3 separate regions of the Homo sapiens genome follow, and regions 1 and 3 are each linked to region 2. The links are contacts of gene promoters, found by promoter capture Hi-C in human tissues and cell types (Jung and others, 2019). All regions are on one chromosome and are shown on one strand. The core of a region is centred on a gene start or on the middle of the fragment in contact, and the rest is flanking DNA. Distances in the headings are between cores, read along the strand shown.

Region 1 (3,266 bases), core at 226-2,725, 620 kb before region 2:
AATGTAAAAGCCCCCACCCAATAATTCAGTCAGGCATACTCTGACTGCATGGTGGGCCAGATGGTCTTTTTCTACACCTATAATTTCCCAGGAAATTGTGACAGCTGAATTTGCATGATGTAGCTACAAATGGAATTTGCACAATGTGTGTGTTCATGTGGTTTGGACATGAGAATAATTCCTTTATCCCATCATGTTGGGAAGAGTCAAAACATTCACTTGCCCTTCCTCATGAACAAAGCCAGTGCTCAGTCAGTATTTTCTATGTGGAGGATGGAGGATGGGTGGAGGGATGTGAGGGATACACAGAGGGATGAATACAGGGATGAATGGAGGGATGGGTGGGGGAGGGGTGGAGAGATGAATTTAATGGATGGAGAGATGAATAGAGAGATGGATGGGTGGATGGATGGAGGGATGGGTGGATGGATGGAGGGATAGGTGGATGGATGGAGAGATGGGTGGAGGAATGGATGGGCGGAAGAATGGGTGGAGGGATAGATGGAGGGAGGGATGAATGTGGGGGTGGGTTGAGGGATGGATGGGGGAGTAATGGGTGAAGGGATGGGTTGAGGGATGGGAGAAGGAGGGAGGGACATAGGAGGGGTGAGTGGAAGAATGAATGGAAGGATGGGTGGAGGGATGGGTGGACGGAGGGATAGATGGAGGGAACAGTGGAGGAATGGATTGGTGGAAGGATGGAGGGATAGGTGGAAGGATGGGTGGAGGGATGGGTGGACGGAGGGATAGATGGAGGGAACAGTGGAGGAATGGATTGGTGGAAGGATGGAGGGATAGGTGGAAGGATGGGTGGAGGGATGGGTGGACGGAGGGATAGATGGAGGGAACAGTGGAGGAATGGATTGGTGGAAGGATGGAGGGATAGGTGGAAGGATGGGTGGAGGGATGGGTGGACGGAGGGATAGATGGAGGGAACAGTGGAGGAATGGATTGGTGGAAGGATGGAGGGATAGGTGGAAGGATGGGTGGAGGGATGGGTGGACGGAGGGATAGATGGAGGGAACAGTGGAGGAATGGATTGGTGGAAGGATGGAGGGATAGGTGGAAGGATGGGTAGAGGGATGGATGGAGGGAGGGATGGGTGGAAGAATGGATGGAAGGATGGGTTGAGGGATAGATGGGGAAGGATGGAAGGATGTAGGAGGGATGGGTGGAAGAGTGGATTCCAGGATGGGTGGAGGGATGGATAGAGGGAGGGATGGGTGGAGGAATGTGGGAGGGATGGATGGAGGGGTGAATGGAGGGAAGGACGGCGGGATGGGTGGAGCGATGAGTGGAGGGATAGGTGGAGGGATGGGTGGAGGGATGGGTGGAGGGATGTGGGATGGGTGGAGGGATGTGGGATGGGTAGAGGGAGGGATGAGTGGAGGGATGGCTGGAGGGATGTGGGATGGTTGGAAGGAGGGATGGGTGGAGGGATGTGGGATGGATGGAGGGAGAGATGGATGGATGGAGGGATGGATGGAAGGAGGGATGGGTGGAGGGATGGGTGGAGGGATGGGTGGAGGGATGGGTGGAGGGATGTGGGATGGATGGAGGGAGAGATGGATGGAGGGAGGGATGGATGGAGGGATGGAGGGAGGGATGGATGGAGGGAGGGATGGGTGGAGGGATGTGGGATGGATGGAGGGAGGGATGGGTGGAGGGATGTGGGATGGGTGGAGGAATGTGAGAGGGATGGATGGAGGGATGGGTGGAGGAATGTGGGAGGGATGGATGGAAGGAGGGATGGATGGAGGGATGAGTGGAGGAATGTGGCATGGATGGAAGGATGGGTTGAGAGACGGATGGATGGAAGAGTGGGTAGCAAGATATAGGAGGGATGGATGGAGGGGCAGGTGGAGGGATGATGGACAGACTCCAGCCTTGGGCGGAGCTCCTTTGAAGAAGCTTCAGTCTATCCCTGGGATGCTGGCTGTGGAATGAGGGTCCCCTGAGCCTTGGACCTTTTGATGAAAAGTACTGAGACCTTGCAGCAGGTCTTGGTGTTTTTTGGGGGAATACTGGACTGAGACAGTGCCCACTCTGGCTGTATGGAGGTTCTCTGGGAGGGCCTGTATGGAAAGAAACAGTCTTGAGTGAGAGGTAAACTCTCAAGCCCTTCCACTGTGGCATGTAACGCGCTAAGGGACACATGTATTCCTGTTCAGAAACCAGACCCTGGGGCTGCCCAGAGAATGAGGACACCAATTTGATGAGGGCAGCTCTGCAGAAACCCAGGGGAGGGGCGCTGGGCCGGTCGTGGACTCAGATTGTCCTGTGCCACTGCCCTTGAAATCATTATTTATCAGTAGAAAACAAAAGCAAACCTCTCAGCTGGAGGCATAGGAGAAGGTGGACCTGAGTTCGAATCTGAACTCTGCCAGTTGCATAACCTTGGCCAAGTCACTCAAGCTATGTGAGCCGACCTCATCTGTAGCACAGTACGATGACAGTCCTCGCCTCCTAGGGTGTGGGTGGTCCTGGCTCAGGGCCTGGGTGCAGGAAGGACGTGCTGAGTTGTAGGTGGAGCATCACTCGTGGTGTGAGTGACTGGGCAGAGAAGCCAGAGGGGAAGCCCAGCCATGCTGCCCACATAAGGGCAGCCACCTGTCTACCCACTCCTTCCTCCAAAGGTCTCCTCTCTGGGACCCCGAGGATCCAAGAGTCACCAGGTTTCCAGGACCTCCAGGATGCGTGGATATACTTCCAGCTGCCCTTCCCTCCTTTAAGTCAGTGTCGGACCCTTCGGCTCCCGTTTCTTAGCCTTGCTACTCCTGCCTGTACTAAGGGCTCATTTCGGTACCACAGTGGCGGGGCGGGGGGGTGTGCCTGTGGGCTCCAGGCACTGCGCTCTGTTGCTGACTCCGTATCCACGTGTTCTAGACATCAGATCATTTTCCCTCCCTCGTCACCTCCCCACCCACATCAGTGCATTAAGGGAAAGCAGAAAGTTCTAGGCGTGGAAAGCCCTTTCAGCAGCAGCCTCTATTTAGGGGTGCACACAGGTGTCAATAAGGCCTGGCGTTTGGACTTGGCTTTTTCCTGTGTTGCTGGGTGACCTTGGGCAGCTCACCAATGTGCTTGGTGAGCTGGTTTTTATGTTGGACCACTCAGTACAATAACAGTGACTAGAAGTGATGGAGTGGCTTGTGGTTTAAAGGAGGTGACCATCACCTAGGCCGGCCACTCAGACTCAAGACACAGGATTGGTTACTGCAACTATGAATGCTGTTAAAATATAACGGCTTGAAAGTGACAATGTG
Region 2 (3,291 bases), core at 792-3,291:
TCATCTGTATTTACAGCCGCTCCCCATGGCTCGCATTACCACCCAAGCTCCACCTCCTGTCAGCTCAGCAGCAGCATTAGATTCTCATGGGAGTGTGAACCCTATTGTGAACAGTGCATGTGAGGGATCCAGGTTGCATGCTCCTTATGAGAAACAAATGCCTGATGATCCGTCACTGTCTCCCATCATCCCGAGAGGATGGTCTAGTTGCAAGAAAACAAGCTCAGGGCTCCCACTGATTCTACATTATGGTGAGTTGTGTAATTATTTCATTATGTATTACAACATAATAATAGAAATGAACTGCACACTAAGTGTAATGTGCTTGAATCATCCCAAAACCATCCTCCCGCCTCCATCTGTGGAAAAATTGTCTTCCACAAAACTGGTCCCTTGTGCCAAAAAGGTTGGGGACTGCTATTTTTTTTTTTCTTTCTGAGACAGAGTTTTGCTCTTGTTGCCCAGGCTGGAGTCCAATGGCGCTATCTTGGCTCACCACAACCTCTGCCTCCTGGGTTCAAGCGATTCTCCAGCCTCAGCCTCCCGAGTAGCTGTGATTACAGGCATGCGCCACCACACCTGGCTAATTTTGTATTTTTAGTAGAGACAGTTTCTCCATGTTGGTCAGGCTGGTCTTGAACTCCCGATCTCAGGTGATCCGCCCGCCTTGGCCTCCCAAAGTGTTGGGGATTACAGGCGTGAGCCACCGAGCCCGGCCAGGGACTGCTGTTCTAAGCCACAGCGGGCTGAGGGCAGAGCTGGTGTGAGAGCGTTCAAGCTTAGGCAGCAAATTAAACAGTAAAATGGAGCCGTATCTCGAATCAAGTCTATTTTTTTTTCCAAAAGCAGGTATATTCCTGAAACGTCTATTTTTTTTTAATCTGAAAAACAACTTTACTTTAAAAATTATCTGGCCACCAGAAGCTCATCTGCTTCACCTCTGGCAACGCCCTATAGTCCTCTCACACAAAGACAATTCTTCCAAAGTGACAAAAATCTAACCCGCAAACTGTTTCCAAGCGAATGCATTTTTCACAAATGCTGAATCTAACATTTAATAAAGTGTATATATCATGTATAGAAGCATTTAATTAAACATTTACTTTTATTTTGCAGCTTTCCTTTTGTGTTTTGTGAATTTTTTAGGTCTCAAACATTTTCACAGACCCACGCTGCAGGGGTGTTTTTAGGGGACTGGGGGCTCCCAATTATGTACTCGGGATGTTCCCGGGGGTCCTGCCTCGGTGGACCCAAGCGCACAGACCCCAGGCACGAAGGATAGAGGAGCTGCCCCACGCCCTCAAATACTCAGCCAGGGCTGGAGAATCCTTAGTCAATTCACAAAGGGGGAAACTGAGTGGCAAAGGGCACCCAGGAGGTCACCGTTGGAGGCCCCCCGGGTTCAACCTAGGAGCTGCAGGCCGACACTGGCCAGGGCGCGGGCCCCTCGCCGCCCTCGGTCGGAACCGCCGGCCGTAGCTCCAGGGTTGCGACCGTTACCCCACGGAGCTCCCGCCTCCCCGCAGGGAACACTCGGCACCTGGTACTTCTCCATGGGCTCTCCGGGGGACCCTGGGCCTCGCTCCCCCTGCGTGGGGCGCCTGCGATTGGACCCTGGCCCAAGCATGATCAGTAGCGACCGCGTACGGGCGAGCGTCCACCCCTGGCCCCACCCCGCGTGGGTCAGTGGGACCCGCGGGATCCTCCCCGCCCGAACGGCGCCCTCGAGGCACTCAGGCGTCCCTCCCGCGCGCTGGCCCCAGACCCCCAGGTCCCCGCCCCCTTAAAAGGGACGCGTTCCGCCGGGCCGGGAGGGACCGCAGGGCCTGCGCGCGGCGGGCGGGGCCTCCAGCGTGAGAGGCGTGGCGTCGAGCGCGGCGGGCGTGGCTTCGAGCGGATGGGTCGGGAGGCTGGGGATGGCGCGTGGCCCCTTTAAGACGCACCGGGGCGGGCCCGGGCGGCGCGCGGCCCCTTTAAGGCTTGGCCTACGTGGCAGCCGCTGGAGCCGCAGCCGACGCGGAGCGAGGCCGGCCGCCGGGCACTTCCTGTGGAGGCCGCAGCGGGTGCGGGCGCCGACGGGCGAGAGCCAGCGAGCGAGCGAGCGAGCCGAGCCGAGCCTCCCGCCGTCGCCATGGGCCAGAACGACCTGATGGGCACGGCCGAGGACTTCGCCGACCAGGTGCGGCCTGCGGGCTCCTCCCCCGGCCCCGGTCCCGACCCAGGCCGCCCGGGCCGCTCCGGAGTCGGCCTCCCAGCGCAGGGCGCCAGGCCCGGGCCGCCCCCTGACTCCTTGTTCCCACAGGGGGACCCCCCCGCCCGGGCCCTCTGTCCCGGCTGGACAGCCCCAAACCCGGCCTCCGGGCCCAGTCTCCCCTGCCCGCTGGGCCGCTCCCGGAGCCCGGGCCTCGGCGCCCTGCCTGGCTAGCCGCCCCCACCCTCCAGCCAGCCCGGGGCGCGGGCTGTGGGGGTTTCTTCCCGGGCCGGCGGCGCGAGTCCTGGCGTTGGGTCGGGTCTGAGGCTCGCGGGGAGCGCCTCGGCGTTTGGAGCTGCTGGGGGGTCCCCGCACGTTTTTCCTCTCACTGGGGCTCCCGGAGGCGGGCTGGGAGCTCGGGGACGAACGGGGGCCGGGGGTCCTCCCAGAGGAAAGGGGGCGCGCTGGCGTGCGCCCCAGCTACAGGAAGCCACAGCACCTTTTCCTTTTCTCTTTCCCAGATGTGCTGGACTCTTGGGGTCCCTTTGACCCTGTCTGCGTCTCCCTCCCCGTTTGGACTCTGCCCTGGGCTGGATTGAGTGGGGACCTGTACACAGCCTGGGAGGAGGGGAAGCCTATCTCCCTGATAGTCTCCTTCCAGAAGTGTCCAGGTGGCATTCTGAGCAACAGGGAAGCCTTTGAAACAGGCGGTTGGGTAACTGTTGAGAGCATTCGGGAACTGGGTGGACAGGATCCGATCCTACAAAGTGAAGGGACACAACTCCCTTCCCTCTTTCTTGATTAAGCTTGACAGAACAAAAAAACAAAAACAAAAGGTGGTGGTGGTTACGCAGATTTATGCCTTTTACTTCTAAAAGAATCCCGTTATGTCGACAAATTAACAGCCTTATCCCCGCAGGGAGAGCCTTGTGTGGCCCACTTGCCGTTTTTTCCTCGGTTTACTTAATGTGTTCGTGTGGCTTTGCTAGAGTTTTAAGTAGTGATGGTTAAATTTTTAAATTTTTCTGGAGGTGGTAGTGAGTCATCAAACTCTGAGGCCTAGACTTATCGGAAGGCTTGTATATGTGTGGTTTAAAAAA
Region 3 (2,988 bases), core at 440-2,939, 670 kb before region 2:
CTGGGTGTGGTGGCTTACCCCTGTAATCTCAGCACTTTGGGAGGCCAGGGTGGGAGGATCACTTGAGCTCAGGGGTTCAAGACCAGCCTGGGCAACAGAGCAGGACCCTGTCCCTACAAAAAATAAAGTAGGCCGGGCGTGGTGGCTCACATCTATAATCCCAGCACTTTAGGAGGCCAAGGCAGGCAGATCACGAGGTCAGGAGTTCAAGAACAGCCTGGCCAACATGGTGAAACTTCGGCTCTACTAAAAATACAAAAAGTTAGCCGGGAGTAGTGGCGCATGCCTGTGATCCCAGCTACTCAGGAGGCTGAGGCAGGAGAATCACTTGAAATCAGGATGTGGAGGATGCAGTGAGCTGAGATCATGCCATTGCACTCCAGCCTGGGCAAAAGAGCAAGACTCTGTCTTGAGAGAAAAAGAAAATTAGTAAAAGTAAAACTTAAAAATGTGTGTGTGTGTGTGTGTGTGTGTGTATATTTGTGTATATATATGTGTGTGTGTATATATGTGTATATATGTGTATATATGTGTGTATATATATGTGTATATATGTGTATATATATGTGTGTGTATATGTGTGTGTGTGTATATATATGTGTGTGTGTGTGTGTGTGTGTGTATATATATTTGAGGCAGGGTCTCACTCTGTCACCCAGGCTGGAGTGCAGTGGCATGATTTCGGCTCACTGCAGCCTCGACCTCCTGGGTTCAAGCAATCCACCCATCGCAGCCTCCCGAGCAGCTAGGATCACAGACATGTGCTGCCATGACTGGCTAATTTTTATATTTTTTTGTAAATAAAGTATGGATAGGACTAGACTTTGGCCTTTTAAGCCAACTTTTGGAGTTCACCGTTCATGAGATGTGATGCTGCAGTCAGTTCCGGGGTGAAGAGATGGGAAGAGGTCAACACTCTTGGACTCCTGTGGCTGTGGAGGACCCTGTCCAAGCTCAAGGGAAGACACTGTTTCCCGTTTCACAGCAGAGGCAGCCCCAGGGAGCTTTGGGCCAGGAGGCTACAAGGATGCATGCATCTTCTAGAGAGGGCTCATGGAGTTGCTGAAGGGAGCTGTGGGCCAGCTCCTGTGTCCCCTCTTCCCAGGCCTGTCCGCAGGAATTGCCTGGGGAGGGAGGGTGGGCAAGCTGGAAGCAACCACAGCCCCCCAGGCAGGCGGGACCCTGTCTCCTCCTAGCCCCACCTTCGTAACAGCTGTGGGTGCTGCCTCAGGGGCACCTCAGAAACCCTGAGGGCCCACACCAAGGGGCAGCCCCATGGGCACCCATGTCTTCAGGGCAGCCTCTGTTCTGCCGCAGGACGTGTTTGAGATGAGGTTTGCCAAGATGCCAGATGAGCCCGTGGAGGCACCGGCGCTGCCTGCCCCCGCGGCCCCCATGGTGAGCAAGGGCGCTGAGAGCAGCCGTAGCAGTGAGGAGAGCTCTTCGGACTCAGGCAGCTCGGACTCGGAGGAGGAGCGGGCCACCAGGCTGGCGGAGCTGCAGGAGCAGGTGGGCACTGGCATGCTTGGGTGGGGTTCAGGGGCTGAGGCGGGATTGCTGGCACAGCAGCCCAAGGTCCGTCCCTTTGCATGGTTCCTTCCTCTGCCCCTGTCCCTCAGCAGCCGCGGTAGTGCTTCCCCGTAAAGACACTCGGAGTGCCCTCCCCAGGTCTGGGGTGGTGCGAGCCTAACCCACAGCACACGTGGGTGGCTGCGGGGACACGTGGCTGGGATGTTTCTGGAGACCTGGCGGGCCTCAGGTGGGAGCTCAGGGGTCATGTGTGGTTATGTGTGCCTTGCTCTGCTCCAGAAAGGCCTGTGAGGCACTTGCAGAGGCCACAGTAGTGCCTGGGCTCCAAGCAGTCACTTGCAGTGGGGTGGGGTGCAGGCTCCAGGGTCCTGAGGGCCCTGCCGTGCAGCTGCCCAGCCCCAGTCCCGCTGCCAGGCTGTGCTTCCTCCCCCTTCTCTGCTTTCCTCGTTTGCAGTATGGGACAAATGTCACCCACTCTGAGCTGTCTTGAGGTCAGATTGAGAAAGATGTGAATTGTTTCCCCAGACCTCTGGCAGCCAGCCAGATGCATGATTTCTGGGACCCCAGATTGGGAGAAAATAGAGCAGGGCTGTCGAGTCAGGAGGGGAACAGCATGAATCAGGGCTGCAAGGACAGCGATGGCCCTGCAGTCCCCAGAGTTGGGCTGGACATTTGATTTTGAAGTGGCAAGGACACACAGCAGGGAAGACGGCTGTGAGGTGGCAGCTCCTCCACCCGCCCTCTGTCTTCCTTGCACAGACCACCCAGAGGCAGGGACAGGCCGTGGACTCACATGGGCAGTGCCTCTCAAGGGGCCTCTCCCATGGAGGTGGCTGCAGTGGGGAGGGCGAGGCGCTTGGCACAATGCCAGCTGCAGGGAGGCCCTGGATTAATGCTGGTTGCTGGCAGTGGATTGTTTTAACCCCGGAGTCCTGCGTGTTATCAAATGGCTTCCCAGAAATCACTGATGAAAATCTCCTTTGTGTGGGCATTTAAACTTCTAGAGAGTCCTTCCTTATCTGAACAATGGTAATAATAAAAATGTTAGCTGCCCACCTAATGTAGATGACGGGTTGATGGGTGCAGCAAACTACCGTGGCACATGTATACCTATGTAACAAACCTGCACATTCTGCACATGTATCCCCGAACTTAAAGTATAATACATTTTTTTTAAAAAGTTAGCTGCCCTCACCGAGTCCCTGTTGTGCCACCCGCGCAGTGCTGAGCCTGTGGCCAGGCAGCTCTTCCCCACTGCAGGCGAAGAAGCCGAGGCGGAGAGGGCTCATGACTCACTGGGGGTCACGGGAGTGAGGGGCAGAGCAGGGCCCAGGTGCTCCTGGTTCACCTCCTCACCCAGCTGAGGCAGCTCCGACATCGCCCCAAGCCCCCTCCAATCCCAGGGCGCCACGCAGCCCCAGTGGTGTGGGCCGTGCCCAGCACCTGCTCAGCCGCCCG

Evidence for each region. The method cuts DNA at HindIII sites, captures the fragments that hold promoters and counts their contacts. A contact is called where the count stands out against the background at its distance.
Region 1: a fragment that was not itself captured here is called in contact with the fragment with the promoter of SURF4 in region 2 in 1 of the 25 tissues and cell types used here (bladder).
Region 3: a fragment that was not itself captured here is called in contact with the fragment with the promoter of SURF4 in region 2 in 1 of the 25 tissues and cell types used here (dorsolateral prefrontal cortex).

The regions. Positions count from the first base shown.
Region 1 is chr9:133,996,284-133,999,549 of GRCh38, reverse strand. No RefSeq gene overlaps it. Among named protein-coding and RNA genes, the nearest start is that of VAV2, 5.6 kb to the right of the region's middle. The HindIII fragment of the contact is 5,321 bases long and covers 1-3,266 here.
Region 2 is chr9:133,374,810-133,378,100 of GRCh38, reverse strand. It overlaps SURF4 (surfeit 4), which reads left to right and starts at 2,041. Exons shown (of 6, transcript NM_033161.4): 1 at 2,041-2,179. The coding sequence starts at 2,132. It overlaps STKLD1 (serine/threonine kinase like domain containing 1), which reads right to left and starts at 1,735. Exons shown (of 18, transcript NM_153710.5): 1 at 1,541-1,735. The coding sequence starts at 1,627. RefSeq lists silencers at 1,497-1,996, 2,087-2,326, 2,337-2,616. The HindIII fragment of the contact is 3,873 bases long and covers 389-3,291 here.
Region 3 is chr9:134,040,281-134,043,268 of GRCh38, reverse strand. BRD3 (bromodomain containing 3) reads left to right here. Exons shown (of 12, transcript NM_007371.4): 8 at 1,318-1,509. Among named protein-coding and RNA genes, the nearest start is that of BRD3OS, 16 kb to the right of the region's middle. The HindIII fragment of the contact is 7,257 bases long and covers 1-2,988 here.